Linked DNA regions of Homo sapiens: region 2 is linked to region 1. The links are contacts of gene promoters, found by promoter capture Hi-C in blood cells and fetal thymus (Javierre and others, 2016). All regions are on one chromosome and are shown on one strand. The core of a region is centred on a gene start or on the middle of the fragment in contact, and the rest is flanking DNA. Distances in the headings are between cores, read along the strand shown.

What was found. Contacts are between HindIII fragments. The CHiCAGO score rates a contact against its expected background, and 5 or more counts as called.
Region 2: a fragment that was not itself captured here is called in contact with the fragment with the promoter of MYO16-AS2 in region 1 in 3 of 17 cell types (fetal thymus, M0 macrophages and megakaryocytes); the score reaches 6.3 in fetal thymus.

The regions. Positions count from the first base shown.
Region 1 is chr13:109,099,086-109,106,168 of GRCh38, forward strand. It overlaps MYO16-AS2 (MYO16 antisense RNA 2), which reads right to left and starts at 2,873. Exons shown (of 3, transcript NR_046538.1): 1 at 2,458-2,873; 2 at 2,113-2,272; 3 at 1,470-1,724. It overlaps MYO16 (myosin XVI), which reads left to right. Exons shown (of 35, transcript NM_001198950.3): 28 at 1,700-1,802. RefSeq lists an enhancer at 1,365-2,564. The HindIII fragment of the contact is 392 bases long and covers 2,675-3,066 here.
Region 2 is chr13:110,097,264-110,103,892 of GRCh38, forward strand. The region is part of intron 1 of LINC03082 (long intergenic non-protein coding RNA 3082); the gene reads right to left. It also overlaps the pseudogene RN7SL783P. Among named protein-coding and RNA genes, the nearest start is that of LINC03032, 21 kb to the right of the region's middle. The HindIII fragment of the contact is 3,651 bases long and covers 3,327-6,629 here.

The DNA of each region.
Region 1 (7,083 bases), core at 1,623-4,122:
GCCACTGCACTCCTCATCTTCAAGGCTCTCGTCTCTTTAGCAAAACGTCTTGAACCACCACTGCACTGTATGTTCATTAGCAGCTCCTGAGCCAAATGCATTGTTGGTGTTGTGAGTTGCCTCTGCTCTTTTGTGACCCATTTGGAACCCAAATAAGAAAATCGCTCAAATTTGCTTTTTATCTAACATTATTCTCATAGGCTAAAATAAATATAAAATAAACAGCAAGTAATAAGTCATTCGCAAAAAACATAAAGCAAGAAATGCACACTAACATGATGTATAGCATAACCACATTTATTTAAGAATGTATTCCAATATCAAACGGCAAATTTCAACAATGCGAAAACCACAATTACATTTACACTGACCTAATAGGAAGGAATAAGTCTGTTCTCTTCAGCCTCCTCTAAGCGCACTAATCCCATTCATGAAAGCTCCACCCTCATGACTTAATCACCTGTCAAAGGCCCCACCTCTTAATATCATCATATTGGGGGTTAGGATTTGAACGTAGGGACCTTGAGATACATTCTATCCATGGCAGGTGTGTTTCCCAGCCTATGTTACACACCAGACTGTACTGCCGCACATGTGAGCCCTCGTTTACCCACAGTACCTGCCAAAATAAGACACACGTGTGATTCCCATGTGGCTGTCCATGAGACATGTCCCATACTCCCACTACTTGCTCTGAGGAAAGCAAGTAAATAAAGATGTGTAGGCAAAACACTCCCTCCCTTAATTGCACTAAGGAAACTGAATAAACTCATTTTAGAAGATACCAAATTTACTGCAGTGAACTTTAGATGAAACACTAAGGTATTAAACAGAAAATAACAGAAAACTGATGACTTCAGCTTTGGCATTGCGTTTCCTTCGGCTTGCGGAACAGCCGAACATGAGAATCATAAACACAGAAGGCAACAGGATGCAACTGCATAGATCTTTGCTCATTTCCTTTCTGGTTTTCTCCTCTTCCTCCTCCTCCATTGCAACCTTGCCTGTATCTCAGGTTAACCACTGTAAGTGCAAAGGGAATTTTACATAGATTTTTTTTAAATGGATGATGTAATTTTAAAAGTCATTTTTGAAAAACCTGTAGGAAACTATTATATTGCCATGAATTTCAGCTAGGGAATGAAAGTCAATTGCTCACTGATACTTTACAAAATAAAAATGTCCCAGAATATTTGAAATATTCGATATATAATATATGGGGAAGAAGCGATTCTACCTCTCAAATAAGTATTCTGAATGGACGTTTTGGTATTCCATTATTATGGACTCTAGTTACATCTGAATTCACGCTTAAGTGGCCATAAAGAATGCTCAAATTTCTTAAGAGGTATGTTTTTAAAGAGCATGCCAAATGTTTAAAAATGGCTACTGGATTAATTTTCATTCCTTTCAAATTTCCTTTGGTTAAATGGTTTGAAGTGCTTCATGACAGTGCTAAACATATATTAGAGGACTGAAAAATATATTTGACGCGTTGTAAAAACCATTTCCCTTATAAAAGATAAGGATTCTTTCCAGTTCCCTAGTAAATGCACAATGGACAGGTATTTGGCTGTTCCTGGGATAAAGAAAGACGGGGAAACTTTTGGGAAACGATGTAACAAAGACAGCCCTGTTGAATGTGATCATGTGCTTGGCAAATGCAGTCATTGCTTTCTGTCTCTGCTGCTTTTCACAGGTATAAGCCACTGGCTGATACATTCCTGCGTGAGAAGAAGGAACAGTCAGCTGCCGAGCGATGTCGACTTGTTCTCCAGCAGTGTAAATTACAAGGCTGGCAGGTTGGTGACCTACAAGCTATGAAAATAACATTTTAGGATTTTAAATAAATGAGCTGAGTCATTGCAGGGAGCCACCAGAATCTTCCTGGCAAAAACAAATTCCTTTGATGTGTTTGGCAAGGCGTGACATTAAGTGTATTCCCTGGAAATTTGTCATTCTTTATGACTTACCGATTTTAACATCTTGCAGCCAACATGAGAGGAAATCTAACAGGCTCCCTTTACAACATGACAGAAGCTTATGAGCCCCATTCTGTTTGCCCGTGTGTCAGATTCATACCTTGTCAGTAAAGCATTTTGTCATATTTACCCATAGCAGGAGTCAGAGGAGCCAAAATTGAAGAACTAAGGTTGATTTCTTTGTGCAGAGTTGGTCTCTCATAAGTGCATGTTCAACCTGGACTTCCCCAGCTCGTTCACGTCTCAGTCAGCTCCCCTTTTTTTCTGTTTCTCTTTGCCCTGCTTCTCACCTGCCATACAGTGAAAATGTCACCATCCTTTGAAGCCCATTTGTTGGCAAAAGCTTCATAATTGGAAACACTTTATTATAGTCTGTGATCCATTTGAATGGTAGACCCTAGGGGCCAATGAAAGCTACAGCTAGACTTGCAGAAAAAGAAAATAACCTGAGACAAAATTACAGGCAAATGTTTACCAGAAACAGGAGAAGATGGTTCCAGATTTTGTAAATACCTTCAACAACATCAGAGTCCATCCTTGACTCATTTTAGGAAGTAGAGGTTTGAAGTGAGAAGGGCAGATTAGAGCAACAATGGGAAACCACGCAGTCCATGACACCAGAAATTATTTGGAAGTTTCTTGCTGTAAAACCACCAAAAGTGCATAGGTGGCAAAAACAAATGGTAGCTAAAAGCTTTGATAAAAATATGACGATTACTGGAAAGTAGACATAAATTGCATCTTTAAAAAGTGATAGGGAGAATATCTATGAGTAAAAATATATGATAATTGATGAGTCAAAGGATGGGGACTTGGCTTTAGAAATGACATGAGCTGATGATTCAGAATTGCTGAATAGGTCCAAAAGTGGCCCAGTCTAAGTAAAACAGGGAGGGAAGACTGGATTGACACTCGCACACTCATCTGTCTATGACAAAGAACAAAGAACCTAGAATTTTGGCATTGATGAGTAATGATTTAATTGTCTGTGCCACCCAATCTTTTTCTTTGTTATCTTTTTTCCTTTTCTTTTTTTTTTAACTAATAATGAAATTTGAACTTTAAATAACAATCTGAAGGAGGAAGCTTACTCAGTCTGAAGTTGTCAGTGATGCACATCAGTGCCAAAAGATTGGATAAAAAGGGAAGGAGGAAGAAGGAGGAATTACTAACCAAAAGTGATGTCTGCCAACCCCTCCAGAGTCAGTGACATAGGGGTGGGATTCACATATATCAGCATTTATTCTGTCTATAGGTAACTGAAGTCAGTTCAATGGAATCATTACTGAGATTTTGAATAAGTAATTATATAGTAGTAGTCCACGGATGATGTAACACTAAGATATTCTTATTGTATTATTTTGCTTTTAAAGACTACTTACAGATAATGATATACATATATGTATATGTATGTGTATATATGTATATGTGTGTGTGTGTGTATATATATATATATATCTGTGAGATAGATGTATGTGTATGAGGGAGAGAGAGAGGGAGAATTTTTATTTGTAGAAGAAAGCAAGGGAATCTGTAATAATTATTTCACTAAGAGAGTGATTGGCAGTAACCACAATATCTGAGCAGTGGTCCCTCTGATAGACCACTGTAAAGTACAGGTCAAATATGAGAGGAGACCAGAAGACAAATTGGTAAGCCCTGCCAGCCATCATTTCTTCTATATTGGTGCTTTTGCTAGGATTGCAGCTGAGGATAGCATTAAATTGAAACATACATTGGGACTTTCAACAAGAGCATTAAAATTTATTTTAAATGGGAAAGGGATCCCATTTCATGGCACTAATCTATTTTCTCCACACTTTTCACCTGCCTAAAAGAAGCTGAAAACACAAGACAAAAAAATTAAAAGGAAAGAGAAATAAATGTGCTCATTCACTGAGTATATTTGCTTATGAGTTCCCTGTTGTCTAGTCAGAAAAGACAGTATTTCTTCAGCTTCTTCACGATGTAACCTATGATATACTTTATACTACCAGACAAATAATCAACTTCACAGAAATGAAGCATATTCATACTTCACTTTTATATTGGTCTGACAAAGGAAAAAAAGATTTTGTTAAAAAATAAATAAATAAAACAAAAAACACTCATTCCTAACCTGGAAAGTTAGACTCCTCAGTTTCAAAAGCAAAGCATTTTTTAGATATGTGTTGCTAATTACAGAAAGAATTCCTCCTAGTCAATTCTGTTTTTAATTAATACAGGGATTCAATCAGAAGCTGTTAGGCTGCAGGGACAACAAGGTTGTATCGGATGGTTATTCTATCTGTAGCATTATTTCCAAATTGCTAAGAGTTATAATGTGTGTTTTCATTAACCAGTCAGTTCATCCTTTAGTCCTGAGTGGTTAGCATGAAATGAATGGTTACTCTTTTCCATATTTTTAAAAGCAGTGCTGGAGGACAGAAGTGATTAGAATTATATTTTGCTGTGTTAAGTGGTATACAGTGTTAGCTAGAAATTCATTTCTTTTAACTGAAAATAGTAATTTCGTTGTCATTCTAATGCGTCTTGGAGATCTGGCAGGTTTTCTCTTCTCTCTTTAACTTTAATCAGACCCTGTAGAAGGAAAGCCTTGAATCATCAATATGAGATGGTAACTCTGTAATTCTTATACTCTCCAACATTGTAGCAATTCAGTAAGCCTTGGTGCACATTTGATTTCCTTCTGTTTCAGATGAGGATAGAGATGTGGTATCTTCAGTACTATTACTTTTGTATGCCGATCTATGCACCTGTGTCTGCTTTTCATGCTTTAGGTAGTCACAGGTTTGTAGTCGCACATGAGGTACTGGAATTTTTAGTATTTAATAAAAAATAATTCCTCTCATCTACAGAGTATATTACAACTATTCATAGTTTTTATTTTATTTTATTTGAGCCTAATAACTCTATGCAGAAAAGGAAAGTAGACAGCACGTACAGGAGTGACCTTATTTTAGATTTGAGGTAATGGAACGTCACAGAGAGCCCTTGTCTTAATTAGAGATCAGTGTACTGATCAAAATACTAGGTGCAGTTAATATTCAGTTTCAGTGGGAGTGCCACTTTGCTGAGACCAACGTCTAGCTTTTCCTATGTCATGTTCTTTCCACTGCATTTAACTCAATCTGTATCTTCTAATATAACTATCTGAAGTCATTTTGCTCATATTACAGGACTTGGAAGGGGTAGATTATGCATCACAGTACAAGCTTTGATCAAAGGCACTTATACCGTTTATTCATCTGAGCAGCCTGCCCCTTGTACAGTGTCTTTTTTATGTTTATAATTCACCCAGCAAATGAAGGAAAAACAAGCAGACTACTTCCCATTACAGGGTGACTCTGATCAGAATCCTTTTCAACCCAAACTGTCAATCAAACTGACCCTGAAATAGCACAATGCCTTTGCACCCTCATTCCCAACTACATCTTGGAAACAAGAGGAGAAGGAAAAGGAGGAGTAAGGAAAGGAGACGATAGAGAAGGAGAAGAACTGGAATCAAGTGAAGAGTCTCAGGAAGCATTTGATGTCAATTCTAATTCTGAGGGTTAAGACCTAGATGTGACTCAGGCCATCCAGAGGAAAGGACAGGGGTGGGGGCAACTCATAGGCGGTGCTGGTGGAAATGCATGTCAAAGGAGCATCGCTGCACCTTCGCAGCTAGAGCAAAGGCAGTTTGAAAACAGTTTATTAGGCTATTCCGCAGATCCACACAGTTTACAGTATACCGAGTTTTGCTCACGTGCCAATTCTCAGCGAGACATTCCCTGGCTACTAGATTTTAAATTCTCACTATCCTCGACCTTCGTACTGCATCTTCTCATCCTCTTCTCTGCTTTGTTCTCCTCCATGGTGCCTGGGACCTTCTGTTACGCTTCAGATTGCAGTCCTTAACATGCTGTTCACCACCTTTCCTCCATAGCGTGGGAACTCCATCACGAGGGCTTTGTGTCTGCAGCTTACTGCTGCATCCCCAGCATAGAAGCCAGAGAAAGACACAGGACAGACACTCTGTGCCTGGATGCTGGGCCAAGAAATGAGTTTCTGTAAATAAGAAACTACCAAACAATACAGTACACTTGATGTGGATGCAAAGACATGTAAGAATTTTTACAGGCTGGGCGCAGTGGCTCATGCCTATAATACCAGCACTTTGAGAGGCTGAGGCGAGTGTATCACCTGGGATCAGGAGTTCAAGACCAGTCTGGCCAACATGGTGAAACCCTGTCTCTACTAAAAATACAAAAAAATAGCCAGGGATGGTCGTGGGCGCCTGTAATTCCAGCTACTTGGTAGGCTGAGGCAGGAGAATTACTTGAACCTGGGAGGTGGACGTTGTAGTGAGCAGAGATTGTGCCATTGCACTCCAGCCTGGACAACAAGAGTGAAACTCCATCTCAAAACAAACAAACAAAAAACTTTTTAAAATTTATTGTTTTGAAATGAAATAAGAATCCAATGGATTTTTAGCTTTATATCTACGTGTATAAGATACATGTATTAATGCATTAATTCTATAATTAAAAATAATTTTAAAATTTTGAAACTACTACATAAATGTAATTTTAGCATAGAATACTATATAGGGTCAAATTAATTATTTTAAACATTTGTGAGAAAGCTGTAAGTCACACTGCATTTTGCACCAAAACATTTTTGTGTTCCAATATATAATTTCTGTTGTGTCTTTTATACCACTAGACTGTACTTCTCAAAGGAATCTTGTGCCCTTTTTCATAGAATTTGAACTGGTCACCATAAGTTTTGGCAAAGTCATACATGTTGCTGTTTCCTTAACATACTCAAAATTGCTACTTTTACATAATGTGGTTTGATTTTGAAGAAAGGAAAATCAGGATGTAGTGGTGGCTAGAAGGGAATCTTTCACGTTGGTGGCTTCTTATGTTTACAGTGAAATGACATATTTTAAAAACATGGTGGACTAGTCAGAGCCACGTCCTTATTTGCAAAGTGGGATTTATGTAACTTGTTTGCAAAAAGGAATGGAAGTATTTTGAAATGATTTGAGTAAGACCTGCATGACTAACTTCTAGTGCTGTTTTCTGTCGCAGCAGATATAGTTTTCTTTATGAAA
Region 2 (6,629 bases), core at 3,902-6,401, 1.0 Mb after region 1:
GCACTTCTAAAAATGACTTAGATGCAAAGGAGGAAACTTGCATAGCACTGAGCCAAGAGACCTGGCTGAGAGGTGAATCATGGCGATCATGGAGACAACAGACTTGCACTAATACCAGGCAGGACCGTGCTCCTACTGGCCAAAGAGACTGGAAGGACAGGAAAGAAATGACCACTTAGAGAATAAATCCAGCAACTGTGTGGCAAGGGGACCATGTCGCCATGAGAAGCAGATTTAAAAGCAGCACAAAAAATGAACATACATTAGCAGAGGTCAAGTAACTGAGCCAACACACAATGAATGAAGGCTCAAAGTGTCTTCAGCGTAGCAAAGAGGCACAGTGCATAAATGTGTAAAATGCAAAAGCCAGGGTGAAAGGGTAAAAGGTCAATGACTGACAGCAACATGTATAGCCAAAAACTCTATGTATCAGAATAAAAGAAAAATGATAGATATTACTAGGGCAGAGAACCAAGGGCCAAGAGATTTGCGTTCTAATACTAATTATGCTACTAACCTCTTGAACTTCCTGGATGATTTGAGAACCTCTCTAGGCTTCAGGGTTTGTTTATTTTTTTTTCTTTTTTTGAGACAGGGTCTCACTATATGGCACAGGTGAGAGTTCAGTGGCTATTCACAGGCACGATTCCTCTACTGATCATCACAGGAGTTCTGACCTGCTCCACTTCTGACCTGGGACAGTTCATCCCTCCTTAGTCAACCTGGTGGTCTCCTGCTCCCAGGAGGTCACCATATTGAGTCAAACTTGGTGCAGACACTCGATCAGCATAGGGCACTACAGCTCAGAACTCCTGGGCTGCTCGAGCGATCCTCCTGCCTCAGCCTCCTGAGTAGCTGGGACTACAGGCACAAGCTACCATACCTGGCTAGGTGGTTTTATTTCTCATAGAAAAGTAGGTGCAATGATTATTTTTGTGTGTCAACTTGACTGGGCCATGAGGTTCCAGATGTTTGGTCAAATACTATTCTGGGTGTTTTTATGAGGGCGTTTTTGGAAGAGCTTAACATTTAAATCAGTGGGCTCAGTAAGGCAGATGGCTCTGCCTAATGCAGTGGGCCTCATCCAAACAATGGAAGGCCTGAATATAGCAAAAAGGATTACCCTCCCCAAATAAGAGAATGCTCCTCCTGCCTGGCTGCGTTTGAACTATGATGCTGGGGTTTTTTTTCCCTGCCTTTGGACTAGAACAACACCATTGGCTCTCCTGGTTCTCAGGTCTTTGGACTTGGACTGGAAGCATGTCATCAACTCTTCGAGGTCTGCAGCTCACAAACTTCAGATCTTGGGACTTAGCCTCCATAATCACACAAGTCAATTCCTTATAACATAGACATAGATTAGACATAGATATACACATAGAGATAGATATAGATATAGATATATATAGATGATATAGATATATGTATAGTATGGATATAGATATAGATGATACAGATATAAACATAGATAAAGACAGGTATAGGTATAGGTATAGGTATAGGTATAATCTCCTACTGGTTCTGTTCCTCAGGAAAGCCCTGACCAACACAGTAAGGATATGAAAGAAAACCCATAGGGGAAAAATATATTTGGCCTTGAGATAGGCAAGGACTTCTTAGGACACAAAAAGCAAAAACACATTTTAAAAAATAAATATTTAACTTTATCAAGCTGAAAAACTTATACTCTCCAAAAGATGGTATTAAGAAAATGAAAAGACAAATTACAGACTGGGAGAAAATATTTGCAAAATTACATATCTGATAAAGAACTTGTATCTAAGAATATATGAAAAACCCTTGTAATTCAAGAAAAAGAAAAAAGAAGAGGAGGAGGAGGTGGAGGATGGGAGAAGGGGTTGGAGGAAAGGAAAAGTCATTTTTTAATGAGCAAAAGATTTGAAGATACACTTCACCAAATAAGATGGCAAATAAATGCATTAAAATATGCTTAATACATTTAGTCACTCAGGAAATGCATACTAAACTACATGAAATAACACTACACATTTACTAGAATGTATAAAATGTAGAAGATTGACCATGTCAAGTGTTGATATGAATGTGGAGGAACTGGAACTCTCACACATTGCTGGTGGATATGCAAAATGGTACAACCACTCCGAAAAATATTTTGGCACTTTATTAAAAGTAAAAACTACACTTAATGTTTGACCCAGCAATCCCACTTCTAGGTATTTGTCCAAGAGAAAGAAAAGCCTATTTCTATTCAAAGGCCCATATGTAAATATTTATACCAGATTTATTCATAACAGCTCAAAACAGAAAACAATTCAAATATCCATTCATGGGTGAATTCCTATACATGCTGTGGTATGTCCATTTCACAGAATCCTGCTCAGAAATGAAAAGGAAAGGACTACAATCTCAGAACCAGGTGGCTGCAAATCAAACACATCATGTGAAGTAAAAGAAGCCAGCACAAAGGACACCATATTGCATGGTTACATTTCTATACCACTCTAGAAAACACAAAACTAGGGTGAAGGAAATCTGGTCAGTAGCCACCAGGCACTGAGGGTCAGGGGGGCAATTGACTGCATGAGGGAAATGTTGGAAATGATGGAAAACTTTCCTACCTCAATTGTGGTAGTTGTTATGCAAGATACGCATTTATCAAAACTCATCAATCTCTGCACTTCAAAAGAGTGAATTTTAGTGTATGTCAACCATACTTCAATAAATTGACTTGAAAGTTTGGGTTTAATTGAATCCATTGACAAACAAGTTTCCCTCCAGTGTTGAAGACCTGTGTTTCTACTGTCAGGCCCACTCCGTCCTCCACAAGATGCACCTCCACCACCACCACCCCCACTGTGGATGGACACTTTATTCTTCAGATGTTACACCAGACATAAGCCAGAGCTATCCATGTCTTCTGTGTACCCAACTCAAGACCATTCTAGAAAATGCTCCCTTTGGCATCTCCAACCATTTCCATGGTTCTCTTGGGTGCTCCTATTCTATGAACACAACCTTCCCCATGATCTCAGCCTGGGTTCCCTAGGACTTGTCTCCCTGAAGAACCAGCTGTCCCAAAGCCCTGACAGGAGAAGTCTGCTCCTTTTCCTCACACCATGGGACCCCAGTCTGGATATGGAGATGATGTCTTCACACCTCCTCCTCCTCCAGCCTCTGAGGAAAGTCCATGTGGCCTTGACACCATGCAACCACTATTTTTCATCCATTACCCCCTTATTCCCTTTGCTCACCAAAGCACCGGCAGTGGACCCTCACTGTGCTGAACCAGATGTGGTCTCCACCTCGGGTGCTGCTGGGCTCTTGAGTGATTCAACTCCCTCACAAGCTTGGTGTCCAACACCTCTCAACCACGTGAACTCCTCATCCCTAATCACCTTAACCTCTGCTCCTTTTCAGCTTTTGACTTCGTGGCCATACTGAAGACCCTGGACCACCCAGGAATGTTGAATCTGTGATATCACAAATTAAAACTTCCATCTCTGATTGTAATTTCCTGTTCTCTCACGTCATTGCCTTCATTGTTCCTAGTTCTACAGTGTTCTCTGAATGTCCCACCCACTGCCTGCTCTACTGTCTCCCCATCAAGTAGCCTATCTGGAGTCCTGCTTTCCTTGGAGCCCGTGTCCCAACATGCCCCACCCCCATCTCCTTGACGATGACCCACCTCCCTTGTGTGGTTGTGTGCCTGTCCCACCTGCTTCACAAACCTCAACCAGCTCAGTCCTTGCCTACCCTCACTTTATACTATAAAATGTGCCAAAGTGACTTTGCTAATTTGAGATGTTGTAACAAATTGCCACAGACTGGGTGGCTTATCGTCAACAGAAATTTATTTCTCATGGTTTAGAAGGCTGGAAAACCAAATTTCAGATGCCAGTTTGGTCAAGTTTTGGTGAGGTCTCTTTTCTGGGTCCTAGAAGGCCAACTTCACCTTGAATCCTCACATAGTAAAAAGAGGGCAAGAGCTCTCTGGGGGTCCGTCTAATAAAGTCACTAATCCCATTCATCAGGGCCCATTCTCATGACCTAATCACCTCCCAAAGGCCCCACTTACTATTTATAATACCATCACCGTGGAGGTTAAGATCAAGATACAAATGTTAGGGAAGATTCAAACATTCAATCCACTGCACAGAGCAGACAGGATCTCCAAAAGTTCAGGGTCACCAGCCTCCACTGGGATCCCAAATCTGATCAACAGTTTGAGGACTCTCTCACACAAGGCACTGTGAGCTGGAAGTTTTCAGGAAATAGGGAAGAAGGTGATATCATAGCAACACAGACAGCTTGGGCTGAATGTGAGAATTCCCTGTGGCCAGGCGCCCTTTGAAGCTCACCTGAGTGCCTTCCTTGGCAGTGAGCGGCCTGCCTTCTGCAGCATTGCACTCGAACCTGATCGCCTCCATGAAGAGCAGCTTCAGCTCCTGGGGAGCATGCATGTAGGAGGCCCTCAGGAGCCTACTTTCCCTCTGAAAGTGACTGTCCACATAGTTCCTCAATGAAACATAGACCAACACCATCGCCATCCCTCTAAGAAATTCTCATGCAGATATTAAAATATTTTTTAAACTACTACTCTTGCTTATATCTTCCTAAACACTGCATGCGGGGTTGGTGACAGATGAGGGAGAAGCAGGACTACCTTTTTATTTGCCTCACCCATCCCTTACCTAGCACTTGGCATTGTGCTGTGGATCTGGCAGGCACTTATGGAAATGTGTTGGATAAATAGGGAGATGAATAAATGGATGCACAAACAACTAAGTGAGTGTGACCACCTCATGGAAGCTGCCGTGGTTTTAAACTATGTCCACCAATTCTTCAGGACCCCTCCCTTCACAGGGGGAGCCCAGCTCCCTCCCCTTCCGTGTGCAAGGCACTTCGAGATTCACTTCTGACAATTAGAATGTGGTGGAGGTGCTGATGTGTGACTTCTGAGATAGGATTAAAAGATCTTTGGCTCCCTGCTTCCTCCCCTTTTCAGATTGCTTGCTCTGGAAGAAGCCACCTGCCATGTCATGAGGAAGCTCAAGTAGCCCTGCAGAAAGGCCCATGTGGCAAAGAGCTGAGGCCTCCTGCCAATAGCCGTGGGTGATAGCCATGGTGGAGCCTTCAGATGACTGCAACCTTGGCTAACACCTTGACTCATGGAAGACCCTGAGCCAGAGCCACCCAGCTAAGCCTCTACCAGATTCCTAACCCATAGAAAATGTGAGACAATAACTGGTTGTTGCTTAAACTGCTAACTTGGGAGTAAATTTGTTTTTGTAGCAGTAGATAACTAACACAGAAACTAAGTGCAGAAATGATAAAAGGATAGTGCAAAGTTCGGAGAAAGAACAGGCCAACACTAAGAATAAGCCACTACTTCAGCTATGCTAGGAAATTTTGCCAATCCCAAGGGAAGTTGGGCTTATACCTGGATTACCCCTTCTCTGTGTGCCTAAAGCAGTTTACAAGCCGCCATTATGCCATCATATGATTCACCCATGCTGTGCTTCAATACTTCACAATTCTTTCATTCTTATAACACTGAATTCCAAGTTGAAGAACCGCATTCAGATTTTATTACATTGGGGCATCTGCCAAGCTACCTGCAACACAGTCGGGACCCAAATGAAAATTGTACCTGGTTTGCACAATTCCACGGAAACTAACTCCTATCTCCATATTTCTCTTTTCCCCAAATAAAATGAGTAAATACATCTTTTGTGACGAAAGAACTTCAGAAAGAATGGTGAAAGGAAAGAAAGCACTCAGATTTGGCATGCTAACTGTGCTTTCTTCACATCTACTCATGGCTGAGTTCCCTTCAATTTCTCCCTTCCACTCAGTCTCGGACACAGAGGTACATGCAAGCACTCATGCTTGCCCATGCGGCTTGTCACTCCCAACTGGAGCAGAGAGCAGTGCTTTTAGTTTCTCTTCTGCAGGTCTTTTAGAAGGCTCTGGAAAGCCTGGGGAATCCATGCTCCTTTGTGGAGGCAGCTGTCCTTGCTGATACTTTGCAATCCGACCACATCAGTGATTCACAGATGGTCTTAATATCTTATCAGCGTGAGCTCCCCATTGCAGAACCTTTGATCTCCTGGGGTGCAGGCTCACAGGCGCAGGACATCAACCCTGTACAGAGGCTCTGTCAAGCCCTGTCTCAGCCAAGGCTCGTGGGCAAGAGCTGATTATTGAAAACCTTAACATTCACCTCTCTCTCTAAATGCTTTTCATTTCTTTATTCACACCACACTTTTTTTAAGGTAAAAAAAAAATGTTCTCCTGTTTTACCTGTCAATTGAATATCTACCTCAGCCAATGATTACCTTGAGCACTGCAATCATGATTAACCATTGATTCATAGCTACCCTAAGAACATGAACCTATCCGGGGAAGTTAATTATGCCTCAGCCTGACATCTCTAAATTGGCACAACTACAGACAGTTCCACAAGAAAACTAAGGAGATGACTAAGGTTTTTAAGGAGAAATTAGATGATGAAATTAAACTATTTAGTCTGGAAATAAAGGTGATGAGGGCTATTTAATGCCTTCAAGGATCAGGAAACCTTCTATCATGGTTTGCACGGAGGACAGTCATGAGGAAGTGGGTTTATGTATTGGTGTGAGGAGGAT